Linked DNA regions of Homo sapiens: regions 1 and 3 are each linked to region 2. Evidence: promoter capture Hi-C in 16 types of primary human blood cells and fetal thymus (Javierre and others, 2016). All regions are on one chromosome and are shown on one strand. Each heading gives the region's core, a stretch centred on a gene start or on the middle of the fragment in contact. The rest is flanking DNA. Distances are from core to core; before and after follow the strand shown.

Evidence for each region. Contacts are between HindIII fragments. The CHiCAGO score rates a contact against its expected background, and 5 or more counts as called.
Region 1: a contact is called between a fragment that was not itself captured here and the fragment with the promoter of LYSMD3 in region 2, in 5 of 17 cell types (total CD4 T cells, naive CD8 T cells, non-activated CD4 T cells and 2 more). The highest score is 9.3, in total CD4 T cells.
Region 3: a contact is called between a fragment that was not itself captured here and the fragment with the promoter of LYSMD3 in region 2, in 1 of 17 cell types (endothelial precursors). The highest score is 5.5, in endothelial precursors.

The regions. Positions count from the first base shown.
Region 1 is chr5:91,310,719-91,313,418 of GRCh38, forward strand. It overlaps LUCAT1 (lung cancer associated transcript 1), which reads right to left. Exons shown (of 5, transcript NR_103548.1): 3 at 2,360-2,511. Among named protein-coding and RNA genes, the nearest start is that of LUCAT1, 2.3 kb to the right of the region's middle. RefSeq lists enhancers at 558-1,757, 1,120-1,664. The HindIII fragment of the contact is 1,433 bases long and covers 547-1,979 here.
Region 2 is chr5:90,528,194-90,530,893 of GRCh38, forward strand. It overlaps LYSMD3 (LysM domain containing 3), which reads right to left and starts at 1,391. Exons shown (of 3, transcript NM_198273.2): 1 at 1,255-1,391. RefSeq lists enhancers at 662-1,162, 1,788-2,047 and a silencer at 1,428-1,677. The HindIII fragment of the contact is 4,420 bases long and covers 1-2,488 here.
Region 3 is chr5:89,930,073-89,932,842 of GRCh38, forward strand. The region is part of intron 2 of LOC102724637 (a long non-coding RNA gene); the gene reads left to right. Among named protein-coding and RNA genes, the nearest start is that of MIR3660, 85 kb to the right of the region's middle. The HindIII fragment of the contact is 1,042 bases long and covers 741-1,782 here.

The sequences.
Region 1 (2,700 bases), core at 13-2,512, 780 kb after region 2:
GTTCCAGCGATTCTCCTACCTCAGCCTCCCAGGTAGCTGGGATTACAGGCACGCACCACCATGCCCTGCTGATTTTTGTATTTTTAGTAGAGATAGGGTTTCACCATGTTGGCCAGGCTGGCTTACGAACTCCTGACCTCAGGTGATCAGCCCGCTTAGGCCTCCCAAAGTGCTAGGATTACAGGCGTGAGCCACCGCACTGGCCGTAATTTCTTTTCTCTTCCTTTCTCTGCTTCTTTCTTCTCTTCTTCTCTCCCTTCTTCCTTTCCTTCCGCCCTCCTTTCTTCCTTCTCTCCTTCTTTCTTTTCATGTATCTATTCAACAAACAAGTATTTAGAGCAGGAGTGTTCAATCTTTGGTTTCCTTGGGCCACATAGAAGAATTGTCTTGGGCCACACATAAAATACATGAACACTAACAATAGCTGATGGACTAAAACACATACACACAAATCTTATAATGTTTTAAGAAAGTTTACAAATTTGTGTTTGGCTGCATTCAAAGCCATCCTGGGCCACATGTGGCCCGTGGGCCTTGGGTTGGACAAGCTTGATTTAGAGCCTCCTTTATGCAACGCCAGGTGCTAGATGCTGGGGCTGCATGGTGAACAGAGGAAGGCCCCTGCCCCGGGAGACACAGCTTGATTCCCTTATGGTGTAGAACACATGAGCCATGAGGTCAGGAGCTGTGGGGTCTTGTTCACCACTGTACCCTCTACCCCTACCTAGCACAGCACATGGCAATAAGTACATGCTCAAAAATACTCTGAGTGAGTGAATACAAGTTGAGTGCTGCCACACTGATTAAAGGGTGCTCTTGAAGTCCCTCAGCTGGTAAATGCCACCCTGCAGACTGCCCAAGTTCCCCTCAGGAAAAACAGAACCAGTGTACATTCAGATCTTAAGAGTGGTCATCCGGAATACGTACCTTATGAAAAAGTAAGGATATTCAGGTTCAGTAATGATATACTTGGTTTGCAAATAACACACGTTCGTTTTCATGTTGCTAAAGACTCCTTGCTAGGAAACGAAACACTTGTAATTTAATATGCAATGTTCTCAAGAGTCTGAGGCCAAACCACCTCAAGCTGTGAATGCCTTGGCTCTGAAGAGCCAGTCAGGGTCAGGGCAGGGCAGCACTTGGCCTGATGCTCCTCCAGAATAAACCAAACAGCCACAGGAAGTGGTTTCTGTGATTCAGTAGGTGGCACACTTCCTTTTGAGTCAGAACTGAATCACAGCTGTGAGAGGCGAAAAATACCTATTTCTTTATCCCATACTTTTTCCCTATTCCCAGTGGTAAATTTATCACAGACTGTCATATAATGTATCCTGTTTAGTTCCGCGTATTTAAGCAAACAAAAAAAATTTGGCAAATCAACTACGGGGAGGCAAGAAAGGAGGGGAAAACACAGCCGACTGGAATTAATCCAAACGTCATTATGTCGTCACAGGGCCATATTCTCAGAGGTGATTGAAAGAATTGCCACAGTGATTTTGCTGGGGTCATTCAGGCCCCTGGTTCTCTCAACTGGAGTCTGACCCATTTCCAGTGAAAGCAGTTAGATCACACTTACATAAACTGTGTTGCTTCAAATGGGCCTGCCCTCCTCTTCACTCACTGACCCTGGCTTGCTTCTTGGCATGTCTGCTGGAAGGCCATTCTCTGTCTGTCCCAGGCATGGCCCTAGTTCAGCTGCGGGTGAAATTATCCTGTTCTGAATGTACTGAATGCTGCTGGCAATGCTGTAAATTGTTGTGAGGCTTAAGGAAAAACCCTGTAGATATCAACAAGTCATAAAAACAGGCGTATTTTCTCTTCGTCTCTTTCCCACTGTGTGTTTTATTCTTCAATATTAACAGTTCTGGGAATGTAAATGTATTTAACTATATTTTCCTCTGATGAACTAGATTTTAGTATATAATTTGTGGCTTCCTTCCATACCAATTTGTTCATATTGATAGCATGCTTCAGAACAAAGCTTCAGAGCTCAGGCTATACATCCTATAACACTCTTGGAAGACCAGTAACCAGACTGGAACCAGAAATCTTATTGCCATGTTAATATGTCATTTTCCTTCTGTGAAATATTCCAATAATGTAAAGAATGCAAGATTCAAAGTCACATAGACCCATGTACACGTTCAATCTACACCAAAGTTTGTGGAGCTGTGTGACCTTCAATAAGTCTCTTAACCTCTCTGAGCCATAATTTCCTCAGTCTGAAAAATGGGATGCTAACATAAGGCCAACATTACAGTGAGAACTAAATAAAACTTTTACATAGTGTCTAGGACAGCTCCTAGCTCATATTTAGTGTTTAAAATAAGCCTCTGATCTTTCTCTTTATTTACAATACCTTTTCATTGGGAGATGAGGACAGCATTTGGACACAACTGTACAGGCACGCTAAGTCTCATCCTTCCAAAGACGTCAGTCACATTCAGCCCCTTTAGCAGTTTCATCAACAGCATGTATAGCACATGTGATAGCAAACAGCAAGTTGGATTCCTTAATAAAGCAGTAAAGAAGGTCAGCCAGGATGTAGGCTTTAAAGCCAAGGCCAGCTCTTCTGGGCAGGACAGTTGTGGCTGATGTATGACAGCCAAATGTAATGAGAGTCCTCATTTGACATATTGAAGCGAGCACCTCAAGGATGGGCAGGGAAAAGAACCATCAGCAGTACTCACCACCAGAGCA
Region 2 (2,700 bases), core at 141-2,640:
TTTTATACATATGTATATTTTTCTGGGGAGAATTTTCATTGCTTCATATTCTCAAAAGGCATCCATGATCAAAAAAGTTAAGACTTAATATACAGCAATTTACACTTGGCTATACCGACCTACTTATGTGTCTTGTTAGACAGTTTCACCCTAATAATTTGTACTTAGAACTTCAAAATTGGCTTAGTAGTGCAGCTAACTGAAAATCACTAAGCAATGCCCCAAAGCCATTTTAGATACTTGTTTCTATCAACCTCTCTCCACGATATATTTCTAAATATAATTTAAAGGTCAGAACTTCACCTGTCTCACTATCTCTCCACTCCCCTTTATAATGAAATGCAGGCAGCTGACTATCGTGTTACAAATCTGGGTATTCTGAATGATCAAGAACTGGCTGTGTCTTCAACCGAAGTGAACAGACTGACCCAGGCGATCACTCCAGTCTACTACTCAGAGATTAGAAAATACATAATATTTAAGTCATCTGGCTCAATTCTATTCACCTCTCTTAATTCTCTTAGAGCAGGAAAAAGGCACGAACTCCCTTTCAGAAACTTGGAACAAGCCTGCGTGCTACCTAGATTACGAGGGGCCACAAAACAGTGTTAAAGCATTCTTCAGCTCAGTCTGTAACTGAAAACGGTTTCCCAAACACCTTCGTACTGTAGAATGGCTGCTGGGTGTTTCGCCTTGACCTTCTTTAACTAAGCAAGGTGCAATAAGAGGGTCACAGGGCACAAGTTAAAGCTGCAAAGGGACAGAATCAAAGGCACCCTATCCGCTGCCAGGGACAATTTTGTTTTTTAAAACTTAACTACCTCCTCCCTCTGTATTCCACACGTCAAGTTTTTCTTTCCCTGCTATCGTCAGCGAAGATTACGTCTCAGAGTCTTCTGTCACAGCATGACACTTGAACGATGTGACAAGATGCCGTCAGCGAATATTTCACGCCAACATAAAGTCGTGGGAGAAATGCTGTGTTTGGGTGGGAAATTAGCTGCCCAGGTAATCCAGCAGGTAGGCGTCCTTCCTCTGAGCCTCAGTTTCCCCGACAGTGTGACAAGAGGGCCTGGCAGGGCTGGTCTGGAAGTTCTTCCCTGTCTCGGGGGTGTCCGCCACACGGGCCGAGCCCGGCCCTGCAGCCCCCACCACACCTGTGGCCGAGGCTCAGCGCCTCCCGTGAGGACGCAGCTGGGGCTCAACCCCGCCCTCCTGGACCGGGCTACCCTCACCTCCTGCCACCATCTTTACCTGTCCCCGTTAGCAGGGAGCACTCTGCGAGAAGATGGCCAAAAGGTCCGCCGCCGCCGCTGTCCCGGGTAAGTTCATGGCCGAGCCTCTGCTTTGGGCTGACCCCGTCCGCCTCCGCCTCTGCCGCCAACGTCTCCGCCTTCCGGGCCGTACGCCGCCGCCACGTCCGCAAACCTGAGATGCGTCATCGCGTCAAGTGGGCGGAGGTGGGAAGGGGCGGGGGAGGACGCGGAGGGCAGCCCAAAACGGGGGAGTCCAACCACAGGTCCACGCCCGGCACGCAGGCGCAGGGACTCCTCCGGGGCCCGGGGGCGGGTCCAATCCCCGGGCCCGGGGGCGGGTCCAATCCCCAGCCCCGCCCTTGACTCCGCTCCTTCCGTGCCGCTTCACTCCCCGAGGAAAAGATTTGGTGGCCAAGTCAGCGGATCCAACCCGCGACCACCAGCGACCTACTGGCTGCGTCTTTGTCCAGCGTCCACACTGCGCTGGCAGAGACTGTCGGGTGCACCCTGAGGACGAGGCGTGGCTCAGGATGTGTCGGGGAGCTGTCTTGCATTTTTTTCTTGCTGTGCATCTCGAATTTTCTTTAGGGTGGGAAAGGACACCTCAAAAACACTGTTGACATCACGGTTTCAGAAAATTGCGCCATGTTTGTTACCCTTTTCATGCTGAAGACTCCAGACTGCTGCAGAAGAGGCAGAATTCTGGAGAGAAATCCTTGGGGGACCGAGGACGAGGGTTGGAGGGGGTTGTCTCACCCTTCCTGTTTTTAGGTGAGGGAAGTGAGCCACCTAGAGTCAGGCCCCAGGAAATGTTTTCCCTGGCTCGAGGAGTCAAGGGAGTCAACAAATTGTAATCTAACTTATTTTGGTTTGAAAATTAACTGAGTCATTGGTAGTCACCATTGGACTCTATGGAATATTAGCTTATTAAATAAACTCATGACTTCATACATGATTTTTATCACAAATGTGTTAAATGAGTATCATAATGTGTTTGAATTTATGTATGACTTTGGCAAAAGCCGCAACTACTTTTGCACCAACCTAATTAATGAATGTAAAGCATTTTAATGAGTCTGATGTCTCTCAGTGTTGATATTAGAGACGTTGCACTTTGACAACCATGCTAACTGTTACGACAATATCCATTTTAGGCACAAATAGCTGGGGTGCAGGGTGCAGAGCAGTGCTTTTCAGAATGTCTGAATATTTATACATTAGAAAGCCTTTGAAGCTTGGTTTTAAATTGTTTTTCAAAGAGTATGTTTTTGGTTTTCTGGTAAGTGCCTCTGCAAAGGTTAGGAGTTTTGCATTGCAATAGTTTTCTTTTATTAGCAGGGATAGGCACTGTGCTTCCCAGCGCCACAAAAAAAAACTGCAGGAGAAGACTTTTTTAAAAAGTTTGTCTGAATTGTTCTGTGTGTTGTTGCCCTCATGACACCCC
Region 3 (2,770 bases), core at 12-2,511, 600 kb before region 2:
AGTATTGTCTCGCTATAAAGATGGAGTTTTTCCAATAATGCAATGCTCTCCTTCTTCTTCTTCTCCTTCAGTGAATTACCATGTCTCTTATATTCTCTCATTCACAAGTATAGGAGTGATCAACAATTCTGAAATATCAATCTCCTTAAAAAAAGTGCCCATCTTGTTTATATTTAGTTACTTCTAGAAGAACTATACTTCAAATTGCTTGAAATGTCTACAAGAAATTTTGAGTGTGATGTTAGTAAACAGCAATCCTTGCACATATCACTGGCTGTAAATATGAACCATAAATTCCTCACTTAAACATATAAAATCAAGCATGGAATTAGGTTATTCAAAGAGGCAAGTCTGTGACAATATTATTTACTATCTTATTTGCAAGGATCACATCTTCTAAAAACTAACTGTTGTATGTTTGTCTTTAAAGAGGTCTATAGATAAAGGCAGTGATTTTCTGAATACATCAAAACCCTCATAGCATTCCTGAGGATCTACTGATTAACCCAGTAGGATATTAATTATGAACACATCTGCCATTCTTACTTTTTGTTCTTTTCCTTTAAATAGGAGTGGAGTAATTCAGACATGTGTGTATGATTAGGTGTAGCTAGCAGTGCATGATGAGCTAGATTTAGATACATTTATGAAGCATCAAATACAATGAAACAGTTTACTGGAAAACAAAACTTGTACTGGAGATTGGAACTCTTAAAGCAGGAGAAAGTTGTTTTTAAAAAAGCTTAACCTTAAATAAAACACATATGTGGTGGGTGAATGTGAAAGAATATACAGCTTCATTGTTTCTCGAGAACAAAAGTATTTATAGTTCTTCCGCTTTGTGACTCATCTCTCTGCTGTAAAATATTTGGGCTATTACTCATAATTACAAAAAAGGCATCGAAGAGAATGGCTTGACGTTAGTGCAAAGGACAAGGTGAACAAACTGGCATTTTATTTGTGACATTCTCATTTATAAGAAGTTGGACAATCTGTTTTTTGACTGCTTTCTTTCTCTGCAAAAATGACTATAATATAGCACTTAAAATAAATGATAATTCATGTGCCTCTAATCTAAAACGATCAAAACAGGCAAGATGCAAACAAGACACAGAGAGTGCAAAGAATGCAGCATACTGCAATAAATTCCCCTTATATTTATTTAACAATAAATATGCAAATTTGAGATAATTATGAAGACATGTGCTTTGAGGAGCAGAGAGACTACTCAAAAGGTATTTTGTTCAATCATCCTTTTTCTTTTGAGCTAAGATGAGAACCAGAAGGAAACAGATATAATAACAAAAATGGAGTAAGTATTGATCATGGATGAGAAGACTGAGATAATATAAAACCTCTAACTCAAAAAGCATTTTTTTCTGGTAGATGAAACTAAGTGATTCTAAATAATAACTTATTAGTAGAAAACAATTAATTTTATAGCCTTTTAATGGTCCTTTTAAGGGAGTAGTACACTCCAAAGTGAAGTTAATCCTCCACAACGATATTAGTTTTTCTTAAAGAAAATGCTAATTAATAAATAGTTGCTCTGAACCATTTAAAGAATAGAGAAAAAATGTCAAAATGTTACTAACTTCCCGGGAACACAATTTTAATATTGTTTTTCATGAGAATTACAGATTTTTGCATTACTTACTCTTGACTACAATGAGTATTGCATTTGATCAATTATATTTCTAATATTTTGCCATTAATTTTTTCCTCTTCCAGAAAGATGGTATTTAGCCAAATTCTTAGACTTCCTATTCATTCTAAAGGACAAGCTTTCATTAATGTACAAAGGGGCCACTCTTTAATGGCACAGAATACTAGAAAAAGCTCATTCTGAAATATTGTTAGGTAGCTGTTATAGACTAGAATTGTATTAAGGGTGCATATCACATATCCATATCAAAATATATAAAATACATACAGCAGGATTCCTTCAACATGATGAACTATCACTGGATAATGGCTTTATCTCCAACCATCTCAATCGTGGGTATTACAATGAAATCTGAAAAAGGTGAAAAGCACTGTCAACCTTTCTTAATATTGTTGGAAAATGCTGGCGTATTAGAGCTTAAGTGGTTCTTGAAGAAGTCTGTGTGTGTTATCTGGAACAGCCAGATGATTCTTTGCTGTGTGGGGCTGCCCTGTTCATTGTAGAATGTTTATCAATATCCCTGGCGTTCGTACACTAAATGCCAGTAGCACTAGCACCACCCATCCCCCACTCCACCCCATTTTTGAAAATAAAAATTGTATCCAGACATTGAAAATCTCCCCTGCAGGGCATTGAGAACTAGGGATGTAGATGATTTCAACTTTTCTCTCACTAGCCTCATTGTCTCTTCCAAAATCTATATTAAGACACACATCAATTCTTTAATTTATGATATGGCAAACATTCTGAATTAATAAAGTGATTCATTGCAAAGATCAAATTAAGGATATGATCTTTTAATTCAAGCCTAATAGCCTTAAGATAGCCACCATAAAATTGAGAGAGAAGAAGGTATTAGGAGCAAAGACATTTAGCAAATTAAAGGACAATGTCTAAAAAGAAATCTGGGGTGGACTTCTGGAATATGAAACTTACTGGAAGCATATAGATTTGAAACTTATTAAGTTTGTATGTCAAATGCATTGCCAAAGAAACCACATGACTGGTTGAAAAATCATCTGTCTGCTCAAGACTTAAAACAACTCTTTGGCCCCCAGCCTTTCAAGAGCAGGAAGTGAGCTGAAAACGAAGGTGCTATAGTTA